Linked DNA regions of Homo sapiens: regions 1, 2 and 3 are each linked to region 4. The links are contacts of gene promoters, found by promoter capture Hi-C in blood cells and fetal thymus (Javierre and others, 2016). All regions are on one chromosome and are shown on one strand. The core of a region is centred on a gene start or on the middle of the fragment in contact, and the rest is flanking DNA. Distances in the headings are between cores, read along the strand shown. Region 1 holds the start of STAT5B (signal transducer and activator of transcription 5B). Region 2 overlaps STAT5B (signal transducer and activator of transcription 5B). Region 3 overlaps STAT5B (signal transducer and activator of transcription 5B). Region 4 holds the start of CNP (2'',3''-cyclic nucleotide 3'' phosphodiesterase).

Evidence for each region. Contacts are between HindIII fragments. The CHiCAGO score rates a contact against its expected background, and 5 or more counts as called.
Region 1: a contact is called between a fragment that was not itself captured here and the fragment with the promoter of CNP in region 4, in 7 of 17 cell types (endothelial precursors, M0 macrophages, monocytes and 4 more). The highest score is 8.1, in endothelial precursors.
Region 2: a contact is called between a fragment that was not itself captured here and the fragment with the promoter of CNP in region 4, in 2 of 17 cell types (monocytes and M2 macrophages). The highest score is 5.7, in monocytes.
Region 3: a fragment that was not itself captured here is called in contact with the fragment with the promoter of CNP in region 4 in 2 of 17 cell types (M1 macrophages and M0 macrophages); the score reaches 5.9 in M1 macrophages.

The regions. Positions count from the first base shown.
Region 1 is chr17:42,270,460-42,276,554 of GRCh38, forward strand. It overlaps STAT5B (signal transducer and activator of transcription 5B), which reads right to left and starts at 5,932. Exons shown (of 19, transcript NM_012448.4): 1 at 5,789-5,932. RefSeq lists a silencer at 5,565-6,095. The HindIII fragment of the contact is 902 bases long and covers 4,395-5,296 here.
Region 2 is chr17:42,255,047-42,260,500 of GRCh38, forward strand. All of the region lies in intron 1 of STAT5B (signal transducer and activator of transcription 5B), which reads right to left. Among named protein-coding and RNA genes, the nearest start is that of STAT5B, 19 kb to the right of the region's middle. The HindIII fragment of the contact is 4,091 bases long and covers 326-4,416 here.
Region 3 is chr17:42,224,657-42,230,239 of GRCh38, forward strand. It overlaps STAT5B (signal transducer and activator of transcription 5B), which reads right to left. Exons shown (of 19, transcript NM_012448.4): 3 at 2,873-3,029; 4 at 123-212. Among named protein-coding and RNA genes, the nearest start is that of GHDC, 33 kb to the left of the region's middle. The HindIII fragment of the contact is 5,832 bases long and covers 1-4,953 here.
Region 4 is chr17:41,963,017-41,968,770 of GRCh38, forward strand. CNP (2'',3''-cyclic nucleotide 3'' phosphodiesterase) reads left to right here and starts at 3,779. Exons shown (of 4, transcript NM_033133.5): 1 at 3,779-3,871; 2 at 5,052-5,724. The coding sequence starts at 3,869. ODAD4 (outer dynein arm docking complex subunit 4) reads left to right here. Exons shown (of 12, transcript NM_031421.5): 12 at 1,977-3,487. The coding sequence ends at 2,467. RefSeq lists silencers at 70-219, 3,522-3,961, 4,092-4,281 and enhancers at 3,052-3,151, 4,253-4,810, 4,811-5,368, 5,369-5,754. The HindIII fragment of the contact is 2,895 bases long and covers 1,978-4,872 here.

The sequences.
Region 1 (6,095 bases), core at 3,596-6,095, 310 kb after region 4:
TTCTTCTATGATGTACACGGTAATGCTAGGGGAAGAAGAATGAAAGACAACTTATAATAAAAATTAAGACTTTCTCTTCTTTAATATAATTTCCACCAGAAGTATATACTTTAATTGGAAAAATATTTATCACCATCTTCATCAACATTTAAAAAAATCCTAAACATATAAAAATATTTTCTATTCAAAAACCAACGAGACTCCATTTGGGAACACAAAGAAATACAAGCCTCAAAGAAACAAAATGTCTTATAACAAAGTGGCAGTGGCCAGCTCGCTTTTGCTGTACACTAGTTAGGGATGCAGTCTCTGGAATCAGCCCCGCCAAGAACAGTAATGTGACCTTGGACAAATTACTTAACTTCTCTGTGGCCATTTCTTCATCTTCCATCTGGGAATAATACCCACTCCTCTGAGAATCACGAGTTAACACAAGGCCAGAGCTGAAAACAATGTCTGCCCAGCACACTGTCAGTGAACGGTAAGCATTAGGTAATGTTTTTATTATCTTCACACTTGAAGGCGTTGGAACATTTTCTCAAACTCTGGGTTTTGAACATAATTTGAAGGACTTGTTAATTGTCTGCTCACCTCTCGAAAGGTGGCATCATAATGATTAGATACATAATCAGAATATCTTCCCAGGTGAGCCATGGTAAGCAGAGCTCTAGCCCAGAATGATGAATAGTTATTTTTAATACAAATCATGGATGTGGCTGTTACTGGCAACTTCGGCCTGATTTCCCATATGCAAAGAAATCCCCTACCAGGGGAAAACAAGCAATGTTAGAAACCCGTTGGGTTTGTCCTGTTATCATTACAGGGTAAAGCCAAATTCACATTTAGTAGCCTGATGGGCATTAAAAATATTAGTCACCAAATTAATCCCAACAAATAACAATAATTGATTGGCTCATTGATGTATTTCCCCTTGTCTTCCCCAACCTTTCTCTAACTAGTCAGAAAGGAAAGTTTTCATATTTTCTGAGAATCTCATTACTGCTCTCAAACCATGCTCTATATCTTAGTATAATTTAAAAAATGAGTCAGCACAAGCACCTCAGAAAACTAGCATAGAATATGAAGCTACTTCTCTTCATATTAGAAAAGTACAAAAATTTTTAAAAGGTTATTCAGGGTACCAAAGGTAATAGAAGGATACATGAAGAGTGAATGTTGCAGTAGATTTTGCAAGCTAGCTTCCAAAAGTAGGTAGAAAAAGATAAATGTTCTTCATCAATCAATCAATACAGGTATTCATCATCTCAGTGGTGTCATCCATGTGAAAATGGACATAGTTATTAAGAATAAACCTAAAGAAGAAACCATCTTGTATGTGACAAATTATAACTTCTCCTTTCTTGAATATTGGGGCAGCAGGGGAATAGGAAGTCAAGATACTCCAAGTATTAACTTCATTTGCAAATTGAATTGTACATAATTGTGCACCATGCTAATGCAATACTGCTTTTAGTAATGGGATCCAAATGAAAATTTAGAAGAGGTAAACTCCCCCTAAACTGCAAACACATCTGAATGTCAATTCAATTAGGAGTCTATTTAGTTATTACACTTCTTAGCATAAAGCGAGTTAAAGGCCAGGAAAAGAACACTTGCTTTAATCACTGAAACAATCTACACATATTTCTCAAGGCTCCACTTAACTCATCCTGCAACATTTATATTAAAAGTGACCTATCACTTAAGTGATCCAGGAGAGTAAAGGAAGAGTTTTAAGGCTGAAGGTGATTCCTCCTGAGCTCTAATACCATACCCTGAATTTCACCTTGTTCTTAACTCTTTTCCATGACACTGTGTATGGCTTTTAAGCGAGTCCAGAAAAACGGCTATCATTACTACTTAATATAAACCATGGGGTTCTGTATCATGTAAACCCAGAGCAACTCCTCTTTGAAGCACCGACATTCAAGGCTCTACATAACATGTTTCAACTCTATCTTAGTGCTATACATTTTCCAAGTACCTGCGAGGAAACAGATAGCAGCACCTCCATTTTTCTGTAAATTGTGCTTTTGTTGCTGTTCTAAGACTCCTTCCAAGGCTGTTAAACTTTGAAGAGAGTTGGGAAAAGACAAGAACATCTTGCCTTCCCGATTGGGTATTCAGGCTTCACTCAGTAAAGCTGTCATGAAGTAGCGCAAAGGGTCAGAGACAAACCACATGGCATCTGATGTTTGTCTGTATAAGTTTAAAATAAAAATGTGACACTACAAGAAGGTTAACATGTGGACCTAATTTTGAAAATACAAACAGGAAGCACCCCCACCCCAATATTACCATTTAAAAAAAAAGGAAACCAAACCTCAAAGATACCTTCCAAGGAAGTGATGGGTGTGACCCAAACTAACAAAAGTAATAAAACGTCACTTCAACTCTGAAACCATCAAAAGTGAGGGTCTCATTCAACCAACTAAAAATCTAACACCTGTAAATTGCTCTTCTCTTTTGATTAGTAAAAACAGCATAGATTTAGATGTGCAAAATCTTCTCCAAACTGACATAGGCTTTTCAGTAGCAGAGGATCATCATTAATAAAACACCCAATGTCAAGATTTTACTTCAAATAAGGCCACTATAATTAACAGTGAATACAATTTTAAAAAGTATTTATCACTCTGATGCTTAGAACTTAAATTTAAGTACAAAAACTGTCTGATCAATGGAAACTAGATTGTTAAGTTTGACTTTCTTATTCCCAGAAATAAGCATAAAACTGTTGTGTTTCCAACACTGCAGGAGAAAAAAAAAAACTTCTGATTTTAGAAGAGTTCTATTCACAAAGCTCAGAATTAAAAACATTTTCTTCCTTTAAATACCACACATTTGAGGACAGCGATAGTGCAGAGCTAACTTTGAAGCATTATTTTTATTAAGTTGCACAGTTAAAGTATTTTGATACTTTGATATTTTATAGTATCAAAATAAAAGGATATTCTTCTCAAGAGTCCAGTAACCTGGAATTGCCAGATAGCTTTTTAAACGAATAAGTTTCAAATTATCAGAAAAATCATACAAACTAGGGTTATTTTGCTTCCTTTTGTAGGAATAATGCAGTAATCTGCACTCTTAACAGAAAGGGAAAAAATGTGTCACAGATAGAATGTCCAGAAATCTGTGAATAACTTTATGAGATACAGACATTTTTGTAGGGCACGAAAATAGTTAGGCTTCCTTCGATTCCACCTGTAACCTGCATCTAATCTTGAGCATGTTATTTACCTATCTATAACGTCTTCCTTTTACAATAAGACTACCTGTGTCACCTACCTACATAACAACAAGCCAAATAAACCACAACAAATGGATTCATAATATATAAGCCTAACAAAAATTACAGACAATTTGAATACTAACAATACTATGATTTGAAAAAACTCGACTTAAGTATCAAAAAGTAATAAATGGCAACTTTAGTCTTGATGTGGCTTTTACATATGTAAATGACATAAAAACAATCAAGAGAGGAAGAAAATGGAGATGAGATGAAAAGTCAGAGCAGGATAGGAAGTGTTGACCAAAATATTTATGTTGTAACACTCCAAACGATGATAGCACATTTTTCTCCTACAATCATACATACTATGAAGTACACACCTTAAATTTCTGAACACAATCCATATTAATATCCCGTGGGCAAAAAATACAAGCACCGAAAAGGTGAGAACTGATGAGAAGGTGGGATAGTTTACCTAGTTGGGTATATAGCAAAGATTATTTTGTGCAGAGTTTAGCTTCAAGTTATGCAATAACCAAACTACTGGTGATAGAAATCAACTTTTTTTTTCTGATGGTTTGCTTTACAAAAAAAAAAAAAAAAAAAAAAAAAACCTCTCCATTCCTTCCCTGTGTCTCAATCTGGAGCTTGAAATTTCATCTTCCAGAGGCTACAGTAGCAAACAAGTCATCTCCTAGATAACGCGCTTACCTGACCCAAGGTGTGGACTTGTTTGAATTAAACGTAACAGATACCACAAATTGTCACATAGGAAGTTTTTCTTAAAATCAGCAGCCCCTTCTCTTATTTAGCCATGTCCATTCTAACAACTGTGATCTTCCATGAGATGGAAACTGGTACCCAAATGAATAAACAAAACAACCCAAAGCCTTAAAATAAAATCAATCAATAAGATTCTCCCCATTTGAAGTGATCAGAACCACTCCAATATTTACAGTGTTACAAAATGAAATTTTAAAACATGAAAGGCACACTCAATAAAATACATCCTCACCTAGGAACTCACAGGCAATGAACATAACGCAATATAACATAAGCAAATGGACAACAATAGAATGTTGGGGAGAGAGGCACAGTTCTATTACCTTAATTGAAAGATAACAAAATTATTTGAAATAATGTAGACCCAACAGCTGAAAGCTTATTATGGCCCAGGCGGCTATCCAACAGCTTTGGAAACCTAAGATCCAAGCAGACCATAAACACCACTTGAAGACTGAAAAAAATGACATAAGCCCAAGTATGATATTCAGTGTCACGCTGGCCCTTTCAAAGGGCATTCCCTGAGGACACTGCAGAGAAAATGTATGGAATTGTATCTAGGCAAAGATCTGTATACTGCACGATGCTTTGGGAAGAGCACGAATCTCAGAGTCCTTGAAGTTTCAATCCCTGGATACTCAACAAACAGCCGTGTCACCTGAGCAGGCCACTTACTCCACCTATCTGGGCCTCAGTTTCCTCATTTGTACAATAAAAGAATGGCATCATCGCTGGGTTCCTTTCCAGCTCTAACATTCTTTGACCCACTTTTGGCACTATTTATTTGATACGAGGTATGGCGGGATCACAGGGACCAAGAAGAAAAGAACTGACTCTGGCTCTTTGGCAAAGAGAGAATCGGTATCTCTTTTAGTCTTTAAAATTCTTGTGCTTTTCATTAATCCCGTCTTTCTAAAAGCTGACACTTGGTTTTCTTCTTTGGCTTTTCCATCACTGCTGGCTACAAGTGTTTGCAACCGCCTCTTGCTCCGTGTGAGTTCTTTCCTCTTTGTTCACCCCGACCATCTTGCCAGATTCCTTTAGCCTCAGACCAGCTTTTGTGATACAACTCCCCTTCCGACTCTCCATATCTACCCCCCGACACCAGGAGCACTTTTAACCCTTTATCCCTGACTAGAAAGAAAAAGCACACTGCATCCCACGGCCACACGCACGAGCCCAGGCCTGGCGGGTCCTGATGTGGGATCCCGCCCCCCAGAGTCTTATCGAAACGTTCGTATTTGTTGTCTTGATTCCTTATAAGGCCCTGTTTCTTGAAGCTTTGCTAATACCCCCCACCGCACCAGGCACCCCCGCAGGCTCATCCCATCCCCGGAGTCCCGGGAACCTCTTTTGAAAGAAAGAAGTTAAAGCAAGGAAGACGGCTGGGGATATTCGGAATTGCAACGTGAAGGTGTGAGGCGGCTGACAGCAGCCCCCTGAGCTCCTATGGGGTCGGCGCGGGGTCCCCACACACCCACTCAGCACACGCGCACGCAGCCTTTAAAGCGCACGCCCCCCGCGGCGCCGCGGCGTTCGCAAGTCCCCCTCGCGCACCCCGCATTGCCCTCAGCCTCCCCGGCAGCCAACCCGGACCCCCTCTCCCCGCGCGCGCCCCTCGCCCAGCGCGCAACCACCGCGGCCCGGGAGTGATGGCGGCGGCGCGGCCCTGACGGGCGGCTGAGCGGCTGGAGCGCGGGCCCCGCCCGGGCTGGCTCCCCGGCCTGGCTCCCCCGGCCCCGGGCCCAGGGCTCGCCCCGCAGCTCCTACCTCGCTCGGCCCCTCGGGCGCCCGCGGCTGCTCCGGCCCAGCTGTCTGGCTTGCCCGCCCGCCCGCTCGCTCCCTCCCTCGGCCGGGCCGCCGCGCGGAGTTGCCTGCGCTGGGTCCCCGCCCGGGGTGACGGCTCCGGCCGCCGACTCTCCTCCCGCCGGGGCCCGCGGGGGCGCGCGCGCCGCTCACGCGCGGAGGCCCAGGGACGCGCGCCGCTGGCAACCCGGAGCGCGCCCCGCTTCCTGGTTCCGCCCGGCGCGCGCTCGCTAGCCCGCTGTCCCTCGCGCCCCCTCCGCGACCGCCCTTG
Region 2 (5,454 bases), core at 1,121-3,620, 290 kb after region 4:
TGCCACTGCACTCCAGCCTGGCAATGGAGCGAGACTCCGTCTAAAAAAAAAAAAGTTTCTTAACTGTCGTTTCTTAATGACACGCAATCAGAACCTCCCCTGCAGCTGAGGTCCCCTGTGGAGAGTATGTCTCATTGTCTGTATAAACAATTACAACAATGTACCTGTAATTTTCCAGTTCATAATCAGGCTGTAAGAATGAGAACAATTTGTTTTATGAAACATGGAGAAAGACTAATCTTTGCTATTACTCTCAGTGCAGGTTTATCAGCAAGACTTGGAGTAGATAAGCCACAGGCATACAGATGAGGAATCACATTTTGAAAGCTTTAATAACTCCCTAGTGGTATGCAACAAGCTGCTGAATTAACTTGTCTTTGCATACTCATTGCACATGCATCACTGGCCAGGTCTAGGTACAAAGCAAAAACTAAACAATCAAAGGAAAGAAAAACTGTGAAGTCTCCAACCAAAAGAATTATGTTGCAAAAAAAGGAATAAACACAAAGGGGCAGATAGTGTATGATTCCACTGATATAAGATGCCTGGAGTAGTCAAACTCATAGAGACAGAAAGAATGAATGGCGGTTGTCAGAGCCTGCGGGGAGGGGCAAATGGAGAGTTTTATTCTCATTACTGTTTAATGAATACAGGATTTTAGTTTAGGATGAAAAAATTCTGGAGATGGACCAGGTGCTGACGGTCACACAACAATGTGAATGTGCTTAATGCCACGGAACTGTACTTTAAAACAGTGAAAATGGCCGGGCACAGCGGCTCGCGCCTGTAATCCCAGCACTTTGGGAGGCCGAGGGCGGTTCACCTAAGGTCAGGAGTTCCAGACCACCCTGGTTAACATGGTGAAACCCCACCTCTACTAAAAATACCAAAATTAGCCAGGCATGGTGGCGTGCACCTGTAATCCCAGCTACTCAGGAGGCTGAGGCAGGAGAATTGCTTGAATCCAGGAGGTGAAGGTTGCAATGAGCTAACCTCCAGCCTGGGTGACACAGAGAAACTCCATCTCAAAATAAAAGGTTAAAAATGGTAAATTTTATGATATATATACGTAACTCCACAATCTTTAAAATGGGGTTAAAAAACCAGTTTTTGCCTAATAAACTCACATTTTTTCTATCTTTAATGCTGAAATCCAAAGGAAACAAAGAGATATTTGCTGTCTCCTCTCTCTTCTCCCCCATCCCCCCAACTTTTTTTGAGACAGCGTCTCACTCTGTGGCCCAGGCTGGTCTCTAACTCATGGGCTCAAGTGACCCTCCTGGCTCAGCCTCCCATAGTACTGGGATTATAGGCATGAGCCACTGCACCCAGCCCCCTCTCTTTTCTTTCTTCCACAGTAAAAGGCACACTTTCAGTCCTTCTGAGGGTTGAAGTTCTCTGGATACACCTGCTGTATTGAGATTAAAGGGGAATACAATAGTCTTTCCTTATCTGAGATTTTGTTTTCTATGGTTTCTGTTACCCACAGTACAGCATAGTAAGATACAGTATTTTAAGATAGACTACATTCGGCCAGGCACAGTGGCTCACGCCTGTAATCCCAGCATTTTGGGAGGCTGAGGCGAGCAGGTCACGAGGTTAGGAGATCGAGACCATCCTGGCTAACATGGTGAAACCCCGTCTCTACTAAACAAAATACAAAAAATTAGCCGGGTGTGGTGGCAGATGCCTGTAGTCCCAGCTACTGGGGAGGCTGAGGCAGGAGAATGGCATGAACCCAGGAAGCAGAGCGTGCAGTGAACGGAGATTGCGCCACTGCACTCCAGCCTGGGTGACAGAGCGAGACTCTGTCTCAAAAAAAAAAAAAAAAAAAAAAAAAAAGACTACATACTTGTTCTATTTTATTATCATTGTTCTTAATCTCTTACTGTGCCTAATTTATAAATTGAACTTTATCATAATTATATATGCATAGGAAAAAACAATATATATATGTAGGGTTCAGTATTACCTGAGGTTTCAGGCATCCCTTGGGATAAGGCAGGACTACTATACTTATTTAACAGATACTTATTGAGTAACTATTACATGTTGGGCTCTGTTCTAGGTACTAAGAATGTGGCAGTGAACAAAACAGACATGCTTTATGTAACTTAGATTCTGGTATGTAATATTAAATACTTTAAAGTTTAAATAAATAATTGTGCCCCTGCTACACTTTCTAGTTTTTGTTTTTATTCTTCTTCTCTTTATTTCTGTTGGGAGAAAACAGATACCACCTGACAATTGAATCTTACAGGTCAATGACAAAGTCTGTGTGTTCAAACCAGTATCTGGGAAGAAGTTTTAAAAGCACCTCCACAACATCAAACAGGGGGATTACTGGCTTTTGTGAAGTCTTGGTGATGCAAAAGCAATTTCTGATAAAACCAGAACATCTGTTCATCCCTGCTGAAAGCCTATCATCTTTATGGAGCTATTGTATGTGCAAAACAAATCGGGTCCAATCAAGGATTCCACAGTTAAGATCATTTCAGTGTGGCATTATTCCAGCTTTGGTCCAGGACATACAGTTTTATTTACAGGATAACTTTCATGATTGCCACAATCAAATCAAATCCTTTGTCTTTCAAAGGTGATTTGCAGATTCAATCTTCACAAAGCACTAAAAATATAGAGCATGGAGTTAAAAATTCACAATGGGACCACACACAAATAGCAGTACAGGGTGGTAGATAGCTAGCCAATGTTTACTTTCTTCTTTTTCCCATAGAATAAAATATAGGTCAAATTCTACTAAAACAACAAATACCACCACAGTGAAAACCTAGGTATAACAAAAATATTTTGAAACACTTAAAAATGTCCATGTGTTTCTTAATCCAACACAATATACTTTTATAGAATCAATATAATGAATTTTATGAGAGTGCTGAATCCTAACCACTAGACAACCAGGGAATTATAATGAATTTTAAATCAAAAGAATGACTCCTTAGAGCATAACAACTTTGTGTCCGCTCTTTAATTTTCATCTTTAGGGACATATTTTAAATATTTCAAAATAGGCTGTCACAGTATATTTGGAAGAAAGGAATTTGTTTCCCTTTATGGAAATCATCCTCAAATGTATTGAGGAATAATTTTACATTCAATAAATTACATCAGGATGTTTCCAATGTTATAATGAACCTACTTTTGGCAACATAGTAAAATAAAGGGGTTCCTAAAGCCCACCCATTAGTAAAAGTTATTGAATATTTTATTTAACATTAAAAGGTCAACTAATTTGGCTTAGATGTCAGGCAATATCCAAAGAAACACAGAAGTTCTAGCCATTTCTTCAAAGGTTCCTTCTGAAATCAGGTATCCTTTAAAAAGACCATTAAGGCTGGGCACGGTAGCTTATGCCTGTAATCCCAGCACTTTGGGAGGCTGAAGCGGAAGGATCACCTGAGGTCAGGAGTTTGAGACCAGCCTGACGAACATGGTGAAACCCTGTCTCTACTAAAAATACAAAAATTAGCTGGGCATGGTGGAACTTGCCTGTAATCCCAGCTATCTGGGAGGCTGAGGCACGAGAATCACTTGAACCTGGGAGACGGAGGTTGCAGTGATCTGAGATCACGCCATTGCACTCCAGCCTGGGAAACAGAGCGAGACTCCGTCTCAAAACAAACAAACAAACAAAACCATTAAGATAAACTAAGTAGGAAGTGGCATTACCTAGATTCCAGAATCTCTGCAAGTCTCCCTTCTGAAGCTCCGTTTGTTCAGTATTCCTCACACAGTGGTGTTACCAGTCATGGTGTGAACTTGGCAGTTTAGGGAGGCTACCACCTCACCTAGGGGGAACTAAAAATGATTCCCCTCCCTTAAGTATCTCCTAAGACTACAGCAAAACTGGGGGGAACTCTCTTTTGAAAGGAAAAATTTCATCTGTAACTAGATCCCCAATTTTAAGCATCAACTTGATGTATTTTATAAAAATGAAGAGTAGCTAAGACCAAAAGGTGAATATGATTCTTTTCTAGACAAATTCAGTTTCAAAAATAAAGTTAAACAACACTCTGAAACAAAACAAAAATAACAAAACACCCTGCCTAAAAGTGATTTGACAGTTGAGGTATACCTGAAACAGGGTGGGCTGTTTATTTTTATTCAGAATTTTGTTTTCAGAGATGGGATCTCACTATGTTGCCCAGGCTGACTTGAAACTCTTGGGCTCAAGCGATCCTCCCACCTTGGCCTCCCAAAGTGTTGGGATTACAGGCGTGAGCCACTGCACCTGGCCAGAGAGGGCTTTTCTACTCCCAAGAAATGAGAGGTCCTCTGAAAGCAGGAGCTTCAAGGACATGGGTAATGCTTCAGCCATGCAAGGATGCAGCAGTTTTCAAACAAGAGGGTGCATCTGTGGGTGTCTGGGTGTGTCTTGGGGGTGAGGGAATGGTAGGAAGCTTTAAGGGCATCACTTTCTTTAGGTAAGAGACACTTTTGTGCTGGGCGCGGTGGCTCACGCCTGTAATCCTAACAGTTTGGAAGGCCAAGGTGGGTGGATCACCTGAGGTCAGGAGTTTGAGACCAGCCTGGCCAACACAGCGAAACCCCGTATCTACTAAAAATACAAAAATTAGCCGGGCGTGGTGGCAGGTGCCTGTAATCCCAGCTACTTGGGAGGCTGAGGCAGGAGAATTGCTTGAACCTGTCGGGGGGAGGCTTCAGTGAGCCAAGATCATGCCACTTCACTCGGCAAAATAGCGAGATTCTGTCTCAAAAAAAAAACAAAAAAGAAAGACACTTTTATTTCCTACAGAGCAGTGGCTTCAGTTCCCACAGGGCAAGAGACCCTATTTGTTTTGTTTTATTTTAAGTTCCAGGATACATGTGCAGGATGTGCAGATTTGTTACACAGGTAAACATGTGCCATGGTGGTTTGCTGCACCAAGCGACCCTATTTGTATTTGTTGATTGTAAGCCAGATGTTATAAAGCAGGAGACAGCCCTATATTTCATTTCCCTTCGTTAGAAGGCCTATAGCCACACTGTTTATTATGGTAGCCTCTAGCAGCATGTGCTACCTAAGCACTTGAAATGTAGCTAGTGCGACTGGGGAACTGAATTGCAAATTTTATCTCATTTGAATTAACTTAAATGTAAACCTGGAAACTGGTGTTCAATTTAATACTTGGAAAACCTTTCAGTACGTTTGGAACACCTTCAGTATGTGAATCTACTTTATCAACTGAAAGTTTTATGAAATCTGAACACAGTTCATGCATTTCTGGTGAAAATTTGGTGGCTAAATTGAGAGATTTTATAACTGTAAGATACACACCAGATTTTGAAGCATTCGTACAAAAAAAGGAATGTAAAATATCTCAGTGTTTTTGTGGGCTTTTGGGTTCGTTTGTTTTTTTTTGAGACAGGGTCTCACTCTGTTGCCCAGGCTGGAATGCAGTAGCACGAACACGACTCACTGCAGCCTTAACCTCC
Region 3 (5,583 bases), core at 788-3,287, 260 kb after region 4:
GAAGCTCTCTTTAAAGAGACACCAATAGTGCACCCTGAGTCACCTTGACAAAGGTGGGTCCAGAGGGAGGTGGGTAAGAAAAGACTTCCCGACTGCCCTCCCCATCCCTATGGGACACTCACATTGTTGGCTTCTCGGACCAACCTCTGTTCATTGTACAATATATGGCGGATGCAGCGGACCAGCTCCATGGGGCAGCGGTCATACGTGTTCTGAAAGAATCCAACAGCAGACATCACTTTGTGCCACTCCACACTATGGGCCCTAACCATGCCTCAGGATGGGGAGCCTCCTGAGGGACCTCCTGAATCACAGGAGGCACTGTTCCTCCAATACCAACAGGAACAAGAAGGCACATCATGGAAATCCAATTGCAGTGAAAAGGTAAGATTGTTTTACTTCTTTTTTCTTTTTTTGAGACTGAGTCTCACTCTGTTGCCCAGGCTGGAGTGCAGTGGCACAACCTCGGGCCACTGCAACCTCTGCCTCCTGGGTTCAAGTAATTCTCCTGCCTTAGCCCCCCGAGTAGCTGGGATTACAGGGGCCCGCCACCACGCCTGGCTAATTTTTGTCTTTTTAGTAGAGATGGGGTTCCACCATGTTGGCCAGGCTGGTCTCGAACTCCTGACCTCAGGTGATCCACCTGCCTTAGCCTCCCAAAGTGCTGTTTTACTTTTTGCATCTTAATTTGCCTAAAGTATCCGGGGAACATTCTTAAAAACGGAATAAATAAGTTTTAAAAGCCTCGCAAGAGGAGAAACTGGATGCCACTCTCAAATGGGCAATCAAAACTACTACCACCAATGAGGGGACGAGGGACACTGCCCCCCTCTGGATGTGATACCCGAGAAGGACAAGTCACCTACAATTGTCCCTTGGCATCTGTGGGGGCTGGTTCCAGGACCCACTTGGATACCAAAATCTGCAGATGCTCAAGTTCCTTATATAAAATGGCATCGTTTTGCATAGAATGCATACAATCCTCCCATACACTTTAAACCACCTATAGATTGCTTATACTATCTAATACAAAAGAAATGCTATGTAAATAGCTGTTCTGTCATATCTTTATTTCTATTTGTTTTTACTTTTTTTCTTTTCCTGAATATTTCTGAGCTGCGGTTGGTGGAATCAGGATGCAGAACCCATGGACATGGACAGCCAACTATATTTAGAAGTCTGCTCGGAGATGTGCAATGTTAACGTAATCATGAGGAAACATCAGACAAACCCCAAATGAGGAACATTTTATCTTTAAAAAGCAGGGGGTACATGAATTATTATTATTATTTTTTGAGATGGAATTTCACTCTTGTCACCCAGGCTGGAGTGCAATGGCACGGTCTCGGCTCACTGCAACCTCTGCCTCCCAGGTTTAAGAGATTCTCCTGCCTCAGCCTCCCAAGTAGCTGGGATTACAGTTGTCCACTGCCACACCCAGTTAATTTCTGTATTTTTAGTAGAGATGGGGTTTCACCATGTTGGCCAGGCTGGTCTCGAACTCCTGACCTCAGATGATTCACCCGCCTCAGCCTCCCAAAGTGCTGGGATTACTGGTGTGAGCCACTGCACCCAGCCTACATTAATTATTTTAAAATGCCAATGTAATGAAAGACAAAGTAAGGTTGCAAAATGGTTCCAGATTAAAGGAGATTAAAGAGACATGATGACTAGATGCAATATGTGATCTTGGGCTGGATTCTGGACTGCAGCGGGGAAAAATACCCTAAAGGACATGTTTGAATTAGTTGACAAAATGGAAATCCAGATGAGTACCTAAAAGTATTATATCAATGCTAAATTTAGTGAAGTTGATCAGTGTATTATAACCATGCAAGACAAGGTTCATTCTTAGAAAATGCACAGAGGGGCTGGGTGCGGTGGCTCATGCCTGTAATCCCAGCACTTTGGGAGGCCGAGGAGGGTGAATCACCTGAGGTCGGGAGTTCGAAACCAGCCTGACCAACATGGAGAAACCCCATCTCTACTAAAAATACAAAAATTAGGCGGGTGTGGTGGCATGCACCTGTAGTCCCAGCTACTTGGGAGGCTGAGGCAGGAGAATCACTTGAACCCGGGAGGTGGAGGTTGCGGTGAGCCGAGACCGCGCCACTGCACTCCAGCCTGGGCAACAAGAGTGAAACTCCATCTCAAAAAAAAAAAAAAAAAAAGACAATGCACAGAGGGACCGGGCATAGTGGCTCATGCCTATAATTTCAACACTTTGGGAGGCTGAGGTGGGCGGATCACCTGAGGTCAGGAGTTCAAGACCACTGTGGCCAACATGGCAAAACCCCGTCTCCACTAAAAATACCAAAAAAAAAAAAAAACTGCCAGGCATGGTGGCAGGAGCCTGTAATCCCAGCTACTTGAGAGGCTGAGGCAGAAGAATCGCTTGAACCCGGGAGGCAGAGGTTGCAGTGAGCTGAGATTGCTCCACTGCACTCCAGCCTGGGCGACAGAGCAAGACTCCGTCTCAAAAATAAATAAATAAATAAATAAATAAATAAATAAATAGAAAATGCACAGAGGTACTTACTGGTGCAGGGACACAAGGTATGCAACTTACTCTCCAGTGACTGAAAAACGTGTGTGTCGAGAGACAGCGAGGAGTATATGACAACATAAAAGTCAACAACAGGTGAATATGGGCATATGTGGGGAATCTTTGTATGATTCTTGTAACTTTCTGGAAGTATGAAATTATTCTCAAATAAAAAGTAAAAAAAAAAAAAAAGACCAAAACCACACAACAAGAACCTTATGCACGTGTAACTCAACAATGCTGGACTGAAGGAGAGAAAGAAAGTCTCTACAGGAAGAAGACCCCCAAGGGAAGGTAATTAAGTGTGACCCCAGAGCCCACACCCACCTGGAGCTGTGTGGCATAGTGCCCCAGCTTGATCTTCAGTAAAAACCCATCTTCCCCCACCTGGTGCTCTGCCTTCTTCTGCAGCTCCTGCACCAGGCCCTCCAGGAGCTGGGTGGCCTTAATGTTCTCCTGTGGATTATCAAGATCTACTGAGTCCCTAGGGGAAAAAAATTACATAATCTGTATACATACATGCACGTGAGCCTGTATAAATACAGCCTCAACACATCCTACTTTTTCTTCAACTAAAGTGATGTTTTTAATCCTCACTGCAAATTTTAAGAAACAGCCCAACAGAAATGGACTCAATGCCTATGTTAATCTATTTGTAATTTACTAAATAGTTGGATTATACAGTAGATTTCCTTCTTTTAAAAAAAAAAATTTTTAACAATGTGCTGCCCTTCTTCCTTTCTCTCAATGATGTGCTTGGTGCTTATGCTATTTGCTCCGAGAAATGCAAGGAAAAGGAAAGGGTTCTGTGTACTCTGAAGGAAATAAGGACTTGGATAATTTCCTATTTATAGTTACCCCTCATGGGTGTAAAGGAGGCACAAGGCCAAGACTCTTCTACATGTCCTTTCCAGCCTCAAGGAGTTTGGTATCTGTGGGTTTCTTAGGTAGAGACAGGTGAAACAAGTTATTGCTATTTCTAAGAAGCCCTGGAAATGAGACATTCAGGCAGAGGGTGCCTACAAGAATTTATACGAGTCAGACATTCATGTCACTAGTTGCAGACCCAGGACCTGAAGGCAATGCCAACTTTTCCAGTAAACAAGGAAAACCACGCTACAGACTTTGCATTGATTTCAAGCTACTGAACTGGTGACGGGGGTTGGATGGTCTCCCTCCCTCCTTTCTTTCCTTCTTTCCTTCTTTCCTTCCGTTCCTTCCTTCCTTTCTACTACTTAGGCAACAATTGACACTGGGAAGTACCAAATTACTTACTCACTGAAGAAACCAAACAGCTGTCGGACTGAAATAACATTCAATAACTGCTGACTGGGTCTGGAGCCAAACAAGATAGTGGTAGCTAAAAGGCTCTGCCATCCCTAAATCCCTGAAGATAGCAACTAATTTCAAAAAAGAGGCACCAACAAGTGTATCAAAACAGTGAGACCGGCCGGGCGTGGTGGCTCACGCCTGTGATCCTAGCATTTTGGGAGGCCGAGGCAGGCGGATTACCTGAGCTCAGGAGTTGGAGATCAGCCTGGGCAACACGGTGAAACCCCATCTCTACTAAAACACAAAAGAAATTATCCGGGCGTGGCGGCATGTGCCTGTAGTCCCAGCTACTTGGGAGGCTGAGGCAGGAGAACTGCTTGAACCCAGGAGGTGGAGGTTGCAGTGAGCCAAGATTGCGCCACTGCACTCCAGCCTGGGTGACAAAGCAAGATTCTCTCTACGAAAACATAACAAAACAAAACAAAAAAAGCAGTGATACCATAGTCCATCAAATAGTACACCCCAATCTGCGCCTTGAGAAGGCAGTTAAGGCAAGTCAGATTCTAAATATGTGTGCCCTATGTATTAAATAGAATACGTATTAAATGAAAGGCTGGAAGGAATGAGGGCAGCCCTGCACCTCTGTTTCAACTGGCAACAATGCCCTTGGTCTGGAAACCCACTCTTTTTCTTTGAGACGAAGTCTCACTCTGTCACCCAGGCTGGGATGCAGTAGCACGATCTTAGCTCACTGCAACCTCTGCCTCCCGGGTTCAAGTGATTCTCCTGCCTCAGCCTCCCAAGTAGCTGGAATTACAGGCGTGCACCACCACGCCTGGCTAATTTTTGTATTTTTAATAGAGACGGGGTTTTACCATGTTGGCCAGGCTGGTCTCAAACTCCTGATCTCAAGTGATCCACCCACCTCAGCCTCCCAAAGTGCTGGGATTACAGGCGTGAGCCACCGTGCCCGGCCAGGAGCCCACTCTTAAAAGGATCCAGTCTCTGAGCAAAACTCACAGAAGTCAGGTATTGGTTCTTTACTTGAAACCTTAATTCTCTGTTAAAAAAAAAAAAGACTTGCTTAGATGGCTTAAACATAAAGAACTAAAGATTTGGCTGGGCCCGGTGGCTCAAGCTTTTAATCCCAGCACTTTGGGAGGCCGAAATGGGCAGATCACAAGGTCAGGAGTTAGAGACCAGCCTGGCCAACATGATGAAACCCCGTCTCTATTAAAAATACAAAAATTAGCTCGGTGTGGTGGCGGGCACCTGCAGTCCCAGCTACTCGGGAAGCTGAGGCACGAGAATTGCTTGAACCCGGGAGGCGGAGATTGCAGTGAGCCGAGATCACGCCACTGCAGCCTGGTGACAGAGCGAGACTCCATCTCAAAAAAAAAAAAGAATTGAAAATTCTTCATTAAAATCTTTATATTCTGAAGAAAACCAAAGCTAAAAAATTTCAAGTTTTCCTTAATATCAACACAAGTCTTTTAATTCATTCAGTGAGAACACCAAATGAGAACTCTGCTAAGTGAAATCTGAAATTAACAGCAACTTCCTACTCATGTTTTTCTAAATCCTCCACATCAGAAAACAGGAGAGAAAATGAAAAGGGAGTGGAAAGCACTAAACGAGGTACAGCTGACATTCTCATATTTAGCTAATTTTTTTCCCTCACTTAATTACATGAAGTTGAGTTTTTTTTTAATTGCCTAGAAAATTGCCTTTCTTTGGTGATCTTTAGTTTCTGAACAGAAATTTGC
Region 4 (5,754 bases), core at 2,529-5,028:
AGCTGCTCTGAGAAGCCACAGGAGCAACAGCTGTGGAGAGAGACTCTGCGGGGAAGCAGCCAACACCCCAGTCTCCCTACCCTGGCCTGCGTCCTTGTGCCTGGAGAACTGCCGGGCACGTCCCTCTCAGAACAGCAGGTGGCAGCATTGCATCTGTTTTCACCACCAAAGGGCTGTGACCCCCTGAGACCTGAGACCCTCTGCAGATACCTCAGTAACTAGTGGTTTCCAGGAGGAGAATGTAAGGGAGACGCAGAAGGGGATGTAACTTTTCTCCATAACTGATAAAAAAAAAAATTTAGGAGCAAGGATCCCTTTGCTTGTAAAATAACTCTTCAGCTGAACTTTTTGTTAGCAGCGTATATCTTTATAGGAAACCTATCTTTTTCCTTATGTTTTTTCTATATTTTCATAGGAAACCTCCCAACAAATAATGAATGTGCTTCCCAGGGACAAAGAGAAAGTGTCAGAATGAAGATGCTGGAGAAAATCCTTCTGTCATTTTCCAGCACCTATGCTATTTCTTGCAGGGAAAAGAGGTGTTCTGGGGTCAGACTGTCCTGGGTTCAAATTCTGTCTCACTTGCACACTTGCAGTGTGACCATTGTGTGATTTCTTTTCTTTCTTTTTTTTTTTTTTTGAAACGGAGTCTTGTTCTGTCATCCAGGCTGGAATGCAGTGGTGCAATCTCAGCTCACTGCAACCTCCATCTCAGCCTCCCAAAGTGCTGGGATTACAGGCATGAGCCACTGTGCCTTTTTTTTTTTGAAATGGAGTCTCCCCTCTGTTACCCAGTCTGGAGTGCAGTGGCGCGATCTCAGCTCACTGCAACCTCCATCTCAGCCTCCCAAAGTGCTGGGATTACAGGCATGAGCCACTGTGCCTTTTTTTTTTTTTGAAATGGAGTCTCCCCTCTGTTACCCAGTCTGGAGTGCAGTGGCGCGATCTCGGCTCACTACAACCTCCGCCTCCTAGGTTCAAGTGATTCTCCTGCCTCAGCCTCCTGAGTAGCTGGGACTACAGTCTTGTGCCACCACTCCCGGTTAATTTTTTTTTTTTTTGAGATGGAGTTTTGCTCTTGTTGCCCAGGCTGGAGTACAATGGCACAATCTTGGCTCACTGCAACCTCCGCCTCCTGGGTTCAAGCGATTCTCCTGCCTCAGCCTCCCAAGTAGCTGGGATTACAGGCGCCTGCCACCATGCCCAGCTTATTTTTGTATTTTTAGTAGAGACGGGGTTTCACCTTGTTGGCCAGGCTGGTCTCAAACTCCTGACCTCAGGTGATCCACCTGCCTCGGCCTCCCAAAGTGCTGGGATTACAGGCGTGAGCCATGCCGCCCGGCCGTGTGATTTCTTTTCTATCGATCTCAGGTCCCTTGACTGCAAACTCAAATCAACGGCAGTGCGCATTTTCATGATGTCTGGATGGGATAAGCTATACAGCCCTCACGTGATGCACAGGACGGAGCTGGGCTCAGTCAATGATGGTTCCCTTTCTCTGCTTTTGGAAAGGTGTGCTGTCAACACCAATTTAAAGAGCTGGCAAAAACAGTCATTCTCAGGGCCTTTCTCTCATCGGCCTCTCAAAAGCACAGGCCTCCACAGAGATGAACAGTTTCTTTCTTTTTTTTCTTCTTTCTTTTTTGGAGACGGGTCTTGCTCTGTCACCCAGGCTGCAGTGCAGTGGCTGGATTTTGGCTCATCACAGCCCCAACCTCCTGGGCTCAAGCGATTCTTCTGCCTCAGCCTCCGGGTAGCTGGGACTACAGGCGCCAACCACCACGCCTGGCTAATTTTTGTATTTTTAGTACAGACAGGGTCTCACTGTGTCGCCCAGGCTGGTCTGGAACTCCTGGCCTCAAGGGATCTGCCTGCCTCAGCCTCCCAAAGTGCTGAGATTACAGGCGTGAGCCACCGCACCCGGCCTGACATGAACAAACTTTTATCTTTCTTCCCGCTTTTCTCTTATTTTTCAGAAGCTTCACTGTATGAAGATAGAATAATAACAAGAGAGAAGGACATGAGGAGAGTGAGAGATGAGCCCGAGAAGGTGGTGAAGCAGTGGGACCATAGTGAGGATGAGAAAGAGACAGATGAGGACGATGAGGCTTTTGGGGAAGCTCTGCAGAGCCCAGCAAGCGGAAAGCAGAGTGTGGAAGCAGGAAAAGCCAGAAGCGATTTGGGAGCAGTTGCCAAGGGCCTGTCAGGAGAATTAGGCACAAGATCAGGAGAAACAGGCAGGAAGCTACTAGAAGCTGGCAGAAGAGAGTCAAGAGAAATTTATAGGAGGCCTTCGGGAGAATTAGAGCAAAGACTCTCAGGAGAATTCAGCAGACAGGAACCAGAAGAACTAAAGAAACTTTCAGAAGTGGGCAGAAGAGAGCCAGAAGAACTGGGAAAAACACAATTTGGAGAAATAGGAGAAACGAAAAAAACAGGAAATGAGATGGAAAAGGAATATGAATGAAGCCATCGGTAGAGATGAGGATCAGGAAGCTGGTGTTCAGAGGGATCATGGGATTTTATTAAACTGGATTTTCAAGCGATTTGTCTGTTATAGGAAAAATGAGGGTTTTACTTCTGCTGCTTTCCATCACTATTTTGCCATTAAATAGGTGTCTTTCACTCTTGCAAACCCTGAGTCTGTCACTTTGCCTCTTCACCCCTGCCCATTCTTGGAAGAGCATCGTGGAAGAAATGAGAAAGGTGCCAAGAAGAAAGGGTTTCAGGAGGGTGAAGATACGGGCGCTACAGGGAACAAGAAGTCACAGGGAGGAGAGGGGAAGGCCTGGGAGGAGAGGTGCTTCCCACACACCGGTGACTGACTGAGTCCCTCCAGTGCGCAGGACAGCGGGGAGGCTTTATGGATGGAACAGTGGTGGGGCGGCCCCAGCTGTCACAGGTAGGAGAATGCCGCAAGCCAGAACCAAGCGAATGCTGGGAGTGAGGCCAAAGATAGGGGAGTGGCCTGGGAGTCGGGAGGGCAGACAGACTCCGCCTCTGACACCTCTGGGTGGCATAATCAGGTAAATCAGGCTCTCCAAGCTGGCTTCTCCTCTGAACAATGGGATACCTGCCTCAGGGGTTGCTGCGAGGACTGAGTGCTTAGCACAGCACTTGGACAGGAAACTCAAAAATCCAACGGAGCTCTCAGTGGTTTCACAGAGGAGGTGGCAGCTGAGGATCTGGCCTCAGAGGATGTTAGGATTTCACTCCGTTACTCATCTGTCCCTTTGGCCATTGCCATCCTGGTCTGTCTCCACAGCTCCTAGAAGGAAAGGTCGGGGCTGAGACTGACTTTCGGCTGGCACAGGGCCTGGACGAATGAGGCCAGTGAGGCATTTCAGATGCAGAGTTTACCGGAATGCCAGCAAATTGCATGATAATATTTTAATCCAATGTGGTAAAAAAAAAAGTTTTTAATTAATGCAAAAGTCCATGATGAATAAAATATCAAAAATTAAAGACAGGATCCGACTTTGCACGACCCTGCCTCACTCACTTCCTGCTAATCCACGGGACCGGGGAGGGTGACTGAGTTACCCCTCAACACGCAGAAAAAGCTAGTGGCCGCTCAGCTCGCAGGCGCAGTGGGTGGGTGCGCGTGGGGAGCAGGCGCGCGCAGGGGGCGGGACCGGGCCGAGGTTCCCGCGCGCGGCGAGAGTTTCGGGTTTTGGTTCGCAGCGCCTGCGCGCAGAGGAGACGGCCCGCCCCCAGCCCGCCCGGGTGCCCGCTCCGCCCCCCGGGCTATGTAAAGCGGCCGGGCTCGGGTCGTGCCACCGCTGGACTCCCGTGTCCCTCCGCGCAGGCGGGCGGCCCCGGAGCGCTGGTGCCGGCAGAGGCGGCGACGGTGGCGCCCCTCCTCATCATGGTGAGAGGCCGGGCGGGGCCGGGCACGGGGTAGCACCAGGGCGGGAAACGAGTGTCGGGGCCCCTCGGGAGGAAGCGTCTTGCAAACGAGGACCCGGGGCTCCGGGTTCGACTTCCAGTTTTCTTGGTACTCAGGGCGGCCCTGAGGTCTGGGAGAAGCGGAGGGGTTTTGGGGTGCCGGAGAGGCCGCTGTAAAGGGAAACGGTGGTGTTTCTCAGGAGGGAACTCGGGACCGCAGAAGCTGCTGCGCCTCTGGGAGCCTGGGTGGGCCTGGGCCGGGAGCCCGGGAGCTGCTCCCGACCCCACGCAGGCCCGCGCTGGGGCAGCCGCTTCGGCGCCCCCTCCCCGGGCCCAGTCTCATCACGCGGAACCGCTGCCCCGCGCCCGGGTGCGGGCGGGAGGTGGAGCCAGTTCAGAGGAGGGGACCCTTTACGGTAAAAGCTGCCGTCCCTTGTGGCTTCTAGAAGATAGGAAAACAAGTGGCTCCGAGAGGCGCTTCTGACACACAGCACAGCGGCGGGTAGAGCTGGATCCTAATTGCAGGTGCCCTGTGCTGCCCTGTTCTGGACAGGCACAAAGACCACGACTTTGTGGGGGCCGGGAGAGGGTAGAGGAGGAGGTGGCAGGCTTGGTGAAAGAGGGCCTTTGTCCAGTGCTCTCCTGCCCTGCCCCCCACCAGCCCTTCTGTGGGACCATTGTACCCGCATGCCAGACAAGAGAGTATTATCTGTTGCGGCCATTGTTGGGGGAAGGGAGGCAGTCTTGGGGTAACCCTTCTCCACTCCCCCCCTTCTCTGTGCACTCAGCCGTGGCAGCTGTGGCTTGGCCCAGACACAGAGACCCCCACCTCCAAAGAGGACGTCCTTAGTAGGTGCCAAGCATATAAGAGTGAGGCCAGTCCCAGAACCGCAGGCTCCTGGCGCGCCCCGCATGCCTCCAGCACGTTTACCTTTCCGAAGTGGCAGGAATGGGGAAAGCGCACGCTTAGGAGAGCTTCAGACAAGCTTCCCTCTTCCTCCTCCACGACCAGAAGCGGAAAGGTGCTCCCGGACCGAAAGGGAAAGAAGGTCCAGCACTGCCCCGCTTGGGAAGGCACCCACAACCAGTCTAGGGACTAGGGGTAAGGCCGGCGGGGAGCCCGCGAATGACCTGGGCTGACATCTCTTCCCCTCCTTACACAGAACAGAGGCTTCTCCCGAAAAAGCCACACATTCCTGCCCAAGATCTTCTTCCGCAAGATGTCATCCTCAGGGGCCAAGGACAAGCCTGAGCTGCAGTTTCCCTTCCTTCAGGATGAGGACACAGTGGCCACGCTGCTAGAGTGCAAGACGCTCTTCATCTTGCGCGGCCTGCCAGGAAGCGGCAAGTCCACGCTGGCACGGGTCATCGTGGACAAGTACCGTGATGGCACCAAGATGGTGTCGGCTGACGCTTACAAGATCACCCCCGGCGCTCGAGGAGCCTTCTCCGAGGAGTACAAGCGGCTCGATGAGGACCTGGCTGCCTACTGCCGCCGCCGGGACATCAGAATTCTTGTGCTTGATGACACCAACCACGAACGGGAACGGCTGGAGCAGCTCTTTGAAATGGCCGACCAGTACCAGTACCAGGTGGTGCTGGTGGAGCCCAAGACGGCGTGGCGGCTGGACTGTGCCCAGCTCAAGGAGAAGAACCAGTGGCAGCTGTCGGCTGATGACCTGAAGAAGCTGAAGCCTGGGCTGGAGAAGGACTTCCTGCCGCTCTACTTCGGCTGGTTCCTGACCAAGAAGAGCTCTGAGACCCTCCGCAAAGCCGGCCAGGTCTTCCTGGAAGAGCTGGGGAACCACAAGGCCTTCAAGAAGGAGCTGCGACAATGTAGGTGGCAGGTTGGGGCCTTATAAGCCC